Linked DNA regions of Homo sapiens: region 1 is linked to region 2. Evidence: promoter capture Hi-C in 16 types of primary human blood cells and fetal thymus (Javierre and others, 2016). All regions are on one chromosome and are shown on one strand. The core of a region is centred on a gene start or on the middle of the fragment in contact, and the rest is flanking DNA. Distances in the headings are between cores, read along the strand shown.

Evidence for each region. The method cuts DNA at HindIII sites, captures the fragments that hold promoters and counts their contacts. A CHiCAGO score of 5 or more calls a contact.
Region 1: a fragment that was not itself captured here is called in contact with the fragment with the promoter of OR6C70 in region 2 in 1 of 17 cell types (neutrophils); the score reaches 5.3 in neutrophils.

Annotation. Positions count from the first base shown.
Region 1 is chr12:55,255,534-55,260,033 of GRCh38, forward strand. It overlaps OR6C74 (olfactory receptor family 6 subfamily C member 74), which reads left to right. Exons shown (of 2, transcript NM_001005490.2): 2 at 1-1,092. Among named protein-coding and RNA genes, the nearest start is that of OR6C74, 13 kb to the left of the region's middle. The HindIII fragment of the contact is 4,681 bases long and covers 1-3,926 here.
Region 2 is chr12:55,467,311-55,472,016 of GRCh38, forward strand. OR6C70 (olfactory receptor family 6 subfamily C member 70) reads right to left here and starts at 2,828. Exons shown (of 1, transcript NM_001005499.1): 1 at 1,890-2,828. The coding sequence starts at 2,828. The coding sequence ends at 1,890. The HindIII fragment of the contact is 2,936 bases long and covers 1,199-4,134 here.

The DNA of each region.
Region 1 (4,500 bases), core at 336-2,835, 210 kb before region 2:
GAACCAACCCAAATGCCCATCAATGATAGGTTGGATAAAGAAAATGTGGTACATATACACCATGGAACACTATAAAATATACATCCATAAAAAACGATGAGTTCATATCCTTTGCAGGGACATGGATGATGCTGGAAACTATCATTCTCAGCAAACTAACACAAGAACAGAAAACCAAACACCGCATGTTCTCACTCATAAGTGGGAGTTGAACAATGACAGAGAAGAATTTTAAATGCATATTTCTCAATGAAACTAGGCAGACTTAAAAGGCTATAAATTATTTAATTTCATTTATATAATATTCTGGTAGAGATAAATTTATAGAGAAAGTAACATATCAGTGGTTGCCAGGACTTTGTTGGAGTAAGGATTAAACGAGGAAGCATAGGGAATCTTTGGTTAGGGTAGTAAAATTATTCTATATAGTAATGTAAAGATGAATACATAATGTAGGGAGACCCCCTGAAACTATTGCTATGGAATAAAAGGTGAAATGCTCCTGATTATTGTAAATACAAAATTGCATGCAGGATTGTGTAAAGACAATGCCAGGTTGGACTGCCAGAATGAGCCAACAGCACATGATGTGCTTCCCCCTGCAGAGAGCCTACGAACGGACATGCAGTCAGGGAGGTTTCACATCACCAAGATTCCTGTCCCAGAAAAGCAGATGTTCATAGCTCTGGGAATGGAATGGGACCCTTGTGTAGAGCCTATAAATGGACGCATTGGGGGGGCACCTGTTCATATGGATAAGATAGGGCTATAAACGCCCTCATCTTGCCACAGCTCTTCTAGGCCTCTTTGGGGGTAAGGCATACTCCCTTCTGATATTTTCCGGTCTAACCGGTTGTCTAGCTTCACCTCCTGTTTCTATGGATTGTTTGTAACCAGCTTTTGCTGCAACTGTTACTGCTGATTAATAACTTGCTAATCATAGGTTATGGAAAGACTGTGTTTCTGTTTTAAGGCTCTGTTAGAAATTACTGATGCACACACTATATTGTAAACTCTTATCTCTGTATACTGTACTTCTGCATACAGATGTTATGTTAAAGAACTACTTCATCCCCATGTGACCATCTCACCTCATAATCAAAAGACCCTAAATCCCTCACTAACCTGCCCCGCCCTCACTAAACTTAATAATAAATGCTGGTATATCCAGTGCATTAGTGGCATCGCGGGACTAGAAGGCGGTGACCCCCCTGGACCCAGCTTTCACTGTCTTGTGTGTGTCTATTATTTCTCGACCTGCCAATCTGCCTGGGAATAAAGAAAGAGCCCCTCATTGCATTGCGGACTGCTGGCCAGATCCTGCAATAACATAACACCGTGCAGTTGTCAAAACCAGTAGAACTTTACAATACAAAGAATGCTTCTAATGTGTGAAAATTAAAAAAAAATCTGGGATATCACAATAGAATGTGGAAGAATTTAGCTATATTACAAATGTGTGACACAACCTCACTGAAGGGCATAGTGTAAAAAGTTGCTGACCTAAGAGAAATAAGTGGAGTCAGTAAGACTAACGTCAAAAGGAACTATACATAACCAATACAGTGAAGTTAATAAAGTTTTCTCCCAATACACATACATACTGGAACTGAATGATTGAGCAAGTGGATGGCAGATGATGGAAGCCAGTATCTCACTGCTGCATTGGGAGATTACTGATAAGGAATGACTCGTGATGGCATTTTAAACATGGTGACGGTATAAACTAAAGTTTAATTTAATATATATACAGATTGATACTATAAAATATTTATCATTGTGTGTCTAGGCGTAGGTTAATATAAACACCTATATTTCCTTGCTCTGTCACCTGAGAGTGTCTAGAAGCAAAAACAGCCCAGTAGCAATAAGCACACCCAGTGCCCAGATCTTGGTTTTTAACACCATTTTCTCATAAGAAAAATAACTAGAATCAGGCTGCTGATAGAGTTTGGCTCTATGTTTCTAATGCAGATGCTATCATTGCATGGCATATTTGCAGCTCCTGTCAAAAGTTGACTTGCTTTTCTCATGCTGGGGTAGGCCATATTGCAAGGAATGTTGCCTCCTCCTGCTTTTGGCAACTTGACTACCTTGGGTCTATTGGTAGTGCCTCACCGGGTAGATGCTGTTTTAGGTTACTGATAAGTTGACTATGGCACACAACTGTGATCTTTGACATTATCTGTGTCATGTCTTTAGATCCTCAGAGCATCTACAGTTTGACAACTTTTATTGTCCAAGCTATTCAGCAAAGGACTAATAGCCTCTGCCTCCTCATCTCTTCCTGATCCATGCACCTAGGTAAAGCAGTATGGTCATTGAATGCAGCTGTTCCCAGACTTGACTACTCATCTTCTTCCAGGGTAATGATCAAGATAAAAGTGGTTGGGAATTATACAGACTTACTTTGAAAATTCAAAATTCCACCTCAGTCATTCAAAGAATGATGTACCTTTCTTTTCCCTAAGATCAAATCTAGATAAGGCTGGTGCCATACCTTCCAGGTGGTAATTTGGACACAAGGGGGCCTAAGAAATTAGAGTTTGATACTTGTTGAAATTTAAAAAAAATTTCGTTTTTCTTCATTTACCTGACTCTTCTAGATGAAAGATCTGAATATGAGTCGGCTATGATTGGGAGAAAAAAAAAGGTGAAGCTATAGCTACAGGAATGTAGAACCCAGATTTGAAGGAAGTATAGGTAGAGAAAAAGCTGGCATATGAGGAGAAAACACCTTGTATACTCAGGGGCCATGGAGAGAGGTATTAGTAATCTTTGCCTTTAAGAAGTATCCTGGGCCCTTTCCTCCAGAAGAAAACTTCCACTCTACGTCTGCCACAAGAGCCTTAATTTTGATGGACTGCTGCATCTTCCATCCTTTACCAGACAGAGATGGCTCTGTCAGGATAACAGAGACAATAAGGTACTATTACACCACCTGCATGTCACTTGATAGTGACAGGAGGTACTGTTACACCACCTGCATGTCACTTGATAGTGACAATAAGGTACTATTACACCATCTGCATGTAACTTGATAGTGACAGGAGGTAGTCAAATGCTTAGGCAGATAGGGGCACGTCCACAGTGAAACCTCACCTCCAAGCAGAAGACAGTTTAATGCCTGAAGGCCAAGCTACAAGTTAAATCCTTGAACTGAATTGAGAACCTATCTTCCCATTGGGCGCACTTTTCTTTGATTGATTCTCACCCTTCACCTATTTTACATAAACTTACACTTTCCGAATTGGTCTTCTACATTGTTGTGCCCACCTTTGAGAGGTGTCTTTCTTTTTTACTGACCAGAGTATTGTCTTCTAGTGGGAAAAAGTTAGGCAGCTTTGCAAGTAGTCTCTAAAAAGACTGGGAATTTAATATAGTTGGGGTCCCCCATTTGTGAATTGGGTGCATTGTGTGCACATTAGGGCCTCCTCTACATTGTCCTCCACCTTTAGGGGAAAAGAGATGCTGACAAGAACATGAAGGATGATTCCGGGAAATTGCACAAACTATCTATGTTTCCATCCTTTGGCCAGAATTTATCCACAAGGTTACCATAAATTGTACCAAAGGCAAAGACATGGAAACTTCTATTAATATGGAAGAAGTGGAAAATGGTTATCTATAATGAAATGTGTTTCAGACCACTAGACAATATCCCAAGGACTGCAGAAAGTATAACTTGCAGAAAAGAAAGTCAAATTTATATAGGACATAAAATGTTCAGTTGTACCTGATGAATTAATGATGTGCATTTAGCTTGAGGTGGATTTTGTCTATGACAGGCTACGTTCTCCATTTTATATTCCCACCTTTTAGTCTCGCATAAAATAATAGTTTTCTTTTTTATGTCTGTCAATGTTTAATGTAATATTTCAATTAAGGTAAAGAATGTTTATAAGCACTAAGTATACTTAGCTTCAAGCTTCAACCTTTTAAACAAGAAAAACAAGGCCCAGTACATTTTTTATTCTTTGTGGTTAATGCACAAAATATCCCCACTTCCCTTGAGAAAGAGTATCATATTTAAAAATACACTTTGATGAATATTGAATGTTAAAACATTATATGATACTATATAATGCTTCCAAATCCTCATCTATATATCTGGGATTTCAAAACATAGAGATGGGAGGACAAACACATATTGGGGCAATCTACACTGATTTCTCTTGAGACACTGTTTGTTTAATGTAGTTATTTTTAAGTAGGTATTTTGTTTTTAAAGTTATTTAGTGCCTTGAGAGAACATGTGAATAACATATGAAGTAGTCATCCTTTGGGAAATGGTGTTCTTGGATCTGATATTTTCCTGAGAATCCTTCATAATCTTTATTTTTCTTCAGGGCACAGAAAGCATAAAAACTCCAAGGGATCAAGAGTTGATTAATTTTATGTGGCACTGTGTGTAATACTACTTAGGAAAACATTCAATACATAAATAATTAACATACAGTTAAGAGGAATTTTAATGCACTAGTCTAACTGCAATAAAAT
Region 2 (4,706 bases), core at 1,578-4,077:
ATCACAAGGCATCTTTTCTTCCATACTCTACTAGGTGGAGCGGTCACTTATTTTCACCCAAATTCAAAGAAAGGAAACTTAGAATCCACTTCTTGGAAGGAGTTTCAAAATTGTATTGTAAGAGCATGTTGGAAGAGAGATACAGTTGCTTTACATTTCCTTAAGATAACACAGTCTACCAAAGAGGTGAAAGTGGTGAACAGAACATGTCACTTTATTTCTCATTCGATGAGCTTATACAGATAATGAAACATGAGAAGCTTCTGCAGCACACTGCCATATGCATTTAGCTTTTCCAGTTTTTCTGGACAAAGTGACGCAGTAATCATTGTCTTGATATTTGAGGGAAAAAATCTGTCTTTTTGACTTTGCATACATCTTTGTAAATAAACTTATCTTCTTGTAATTTACTGTGAAGATGAGTCCACCAGGAATCTTGTAATAAATTTTGTCTTTTTATGTTTATTTTTCTCATTGCCATTAAAATTAACTGTCAAATATTTTCAGAAATATTGACTAGGTAAATTCATGGTAACTATAGATATACATAGAAACAAATACCACTGCCACATTTCAAGGTAAAGTAGCTTAATCACCCTCATAGTATAATTCAATTGGTATAATGGCATATCCACATATTTATCAGAAAAATATAGAGTGTGATATCTAAGTGCTCTAGCAACTGACACACGTGAGTAAAAAAGAAAAGCACATAGTTTCATATCCCTGGTTTGGAGGAAATGAAACATAAGCTTATTTTTAAAACCAACGTTTCATATCTCTGGTTTGGAGGAAATGAAACATAAGATTATTTTTAAAACCACTCAAATTTTAAGACACTGATATTCAATATAATGTACTGTGGGAAACTTGGGCAAAAGTTAAACTAATAATCATGTGACAGGTAATACAATTCATTATATATTCCCATTTACTTAACACATTAATTGACATGTTCAAAAATTAAACTTGCTTATATGGTCTTGAAAAACATTGTGTGTGAAATCAACTGCTTGTGATTAAAGCCATATTTTATTCTCTACTGCAATTTCTAAAATCTGTCCAACATAAATAATAAATATCACATACATGAAATGTATGATTCCCTTCAAAGGAAATTACGCTTTTCTGTGTTGACAATTGACAGTTCGAAAAGTTCACTTTACAAAATAATTTTCTACATTATTTTTAAGGAGTAAGCTTTCTTGAAACATTTTAAATATATTTTTTAACAATGACAATATTTGATTTATCTAAGACTTTTAAAGAACATGGCATTTAACTAAAACAAGGTACATTTCTTTAAATTACTTAGCATAAGATCTACTATTTAATAGCACAACAGGGAGACTACAGTCGATAATAACTAAATTGTATATTTTTAAATAACTTTAAAAATGTAATAGGATTGCTTGTAACTCAAAGGATAAGTACTTGAGGGGATGGGTACACCATTCTCCATGATGCATTTGTTTCACATTGAATGCCTGTATCAAAACATCTCATATACCCCATAAATTTATACACCTACTATGTACCCGCAAATTTTCTTAAATAATTTTTTAATTTTTATAAATTATTTAGATCAAACTCTTGAAGAACTTATATTCTATAATCACTGAAAACCACTCATTTATTTTATTCTAACATGCTTTTAGAGAAAATCAATTTTGCAATTGTTTTCTTTCTAATACAGAAAGGTTTGAATACTGAAAAAGAGAAAATTAAAGTCAGAATGGATAGAATGAAAAACGTTCTGATTGTTGGACAAGCTAAAGTCATACAAATAATTGAATATTGGGTATCAATTCTTAAACTAGAAGAGTCAAATTAGTGTTTTGTTCAAAGATCCTTTTATGTTTTCATGTTAATTATTTCAACAAGTTGTATTACTTGTCTGAAGCAGAAAATATCTTTCTAAATACAGCTTTGAAGGCTTGTTTAACTTGCTGATTCCTCAGAGTATAAATAAATGGGTTTAACAACGGGGCAACTGAAGTATTGAGCACAGTTACTCCTTTGCTTAAAGCAACTCTTTCATTCGCTGATGGCTTTATGTAGATAAACATACAACTACCATAAGTGATGGAGACAACAATCATGTGAGAAGAGCAGGTGGAAAAGGCTTTCTTCTTTTGCTGAGCTGAAGGGAATTTCAGAATTGTCTTGATGATGTAAGAGTAAGAAAGGATTACTAAAAACAATGTGACAATAAGTGTCATCACAGCTAATAAAAAGGCAATCAGTTCCAGTAAATGTGTGTCTGAGCAAGAAAGTTGTAGGATAAGAGAAATGTCACAAATGAAATGATCAATGATATTTGAAGCACAGAAATCCAAGTTAAGACCTAAAATCAGTGGAGTGAAAATGATCAGGAATCCAGTTACCCAAGAACTGAATACAAGCTGGTAGCAAACTTTGTTACTCATGATGGACATATAACGCAAAGGTTTGCAGATGGCAACATAGCGATCATAGGACAGAGCAGCTAGAAGGAAAAATTCTGTAACCCCCAAGAATATGTAAAAAAACAACTGAGATATGCAACCATTACAGGAAATGGTCTTTTCCCTGGTAACAATGGTGATTAGGAATCTGGGAATGCAAGCAGTTGTGAATGAAATTTCCAGAAAAGAGAAATTACGGAGGAAGAAATACATTGGAGTCTTGAGCTGGGAATCCAGCAGAATGAGGGCAATGATAGTGAAGTTCCCTATCATGCTCAACACACAATTTAGAAGTAGAAATAAGAAAATTACAATCTGTAACTGAGAATTATCCGTCAGTCCCAGAAGAATAAATTCTATCTGCCTTGTATGATTCTTCATTTCTCTGTTGTGATTTCAATCAAATTCTAGGAATAAAAAGGTGCAAGGGTTGAGCTAGGTCCAGGAAAAGATACAGGAAAGTTTCCACACTTACAAACATATACATTTAAGAGGTAGTACTCCATGGATGTTGAAGATATGATATAGAACTATGCAACAGAAATTGTAAACTAGGGGTTTAAAAGTACAACAAACATCATCTCACTTTGGAAAATTGATTTGCAAAGCCCTTAATAGTTGATTTTCAAGCTAGTTTTTTTCATGCTTCCACTTCAAGATTCCACTTAATTGTAACTAATTCCAGGTTTGTCAAGTTGTAAATAAATTAGGTAAAGATCTTGGTTCAGGATTCAAAAATAGTTCATTCATTTTAAAATTATTAATTTCATCTAAAGAAAATGATGCCAGTGTAATGAATTAAGACCTAAGTTAAGGGAAGGCACAGTGACTCATGCCTGTAATCCCAGCACTTGGGAGGCCAAACTGGGGATCGCCTGGGGCCAGGAGTTGAAGATCAGCGTGAGCAACATAGGGAGATGCCAGCTTGGGTGACAGAGAGAGACCCTGTCTTTTTTGTTAAGAATTAAAAGACCTACAGTCAAATTTTGAAACTTTACATTATATTATATTAAAGTGACATTTGTTTAAAGCCCTGCTATACAGCCTTTTTCAACTTCTCTATGAACTACATATGAAGATACGGAAAAATGCCCCTAAAAAGTATGAGTTGATACCACAACAAAATAAATACTAGTTGAATCTAGGAAACTCAAAACTTAATATTATGCATATATTGCCACATTTACAAAAAAAAAGTCTATTTAGGACTTAAAAATTTTGTCTTGTGTAATCAAGACCATAGGAGTAAGAAAGAAAACAGATAAAACATTGCATCTCTTCCAAGTCGCTACAGTTACAGGTACCTACAGTCTAAACCTACTTTCTAGATGTAATACTGTGAGTGAAAAATCAGTGCTTTCTTGCCACACTATCTGAGTCCCCAACAATTATTCATGCAGGTAACCAACGACTATTAATTTAGGGAAATAATGGGGTAGGAAGGGTGTAATCATTTGAATGGGACAAAAGGATTCTGATGGTATTTTAAGTTTGTTATTGTAGGTTTCCCAGAGTATCAGGTTGCCAATGAAAAAAGTGAAGTGAGTAATAGTACAGAAGTAAAGCAAAGGTGACAGACTGCTAGGAATTAGAAAGTGGACTTAAAATCCAGCTAAGGATCTGAGAAATAACTTATCAATGGCTACTGAGAAAAAAGGCAATCCACTCTCAGGGTTAAAGTTTGGGAAGCTTCTTTATTGTTTAATAATTAATTTTTAAATGTTAAGCTGAGTATCACAAACAAACGAAAAAAATAAGACATAAGAAAGTGTAAAATGGCTAAGTTAACAGTTTAAAGTCAAAGATCTTGAAATTTTTAGAAAAGTTTAATAAAATTTGGAATTTTCTCCATTATTATTAGTTATATGGTCTTGGGAAAACTAACTTTCTTACTTTAGTTTTTTCATCTACAAAAAAAAGGTAAAATAATTCTGATCTCAGTTAGAAGGATTAATTGAGATGTATACACAACACATGTCTAATAACTTTAATAACCAGTGAAGAGATTAATAAAAATTAAGGCCGGGCACAGTGGCTCACGACTGTAATCCCAGCACTTTGAGAGGCCGAGGCAGGCAGATCACGAGGTCAGGAGTTCGAGACCAGCCCGGCCGATATGGCTAAACCCCGTCTCTACTAAAAATACAAAAATTAGCCGGGCATGGTGGTGGGTGCCTGTAATCCCAGCTACTCAGGAGGCTGAGGCAGGAGAATCACTTGAACCCAGGAGGTGAAGGTTGCAGTGAGCCAAGATCATGC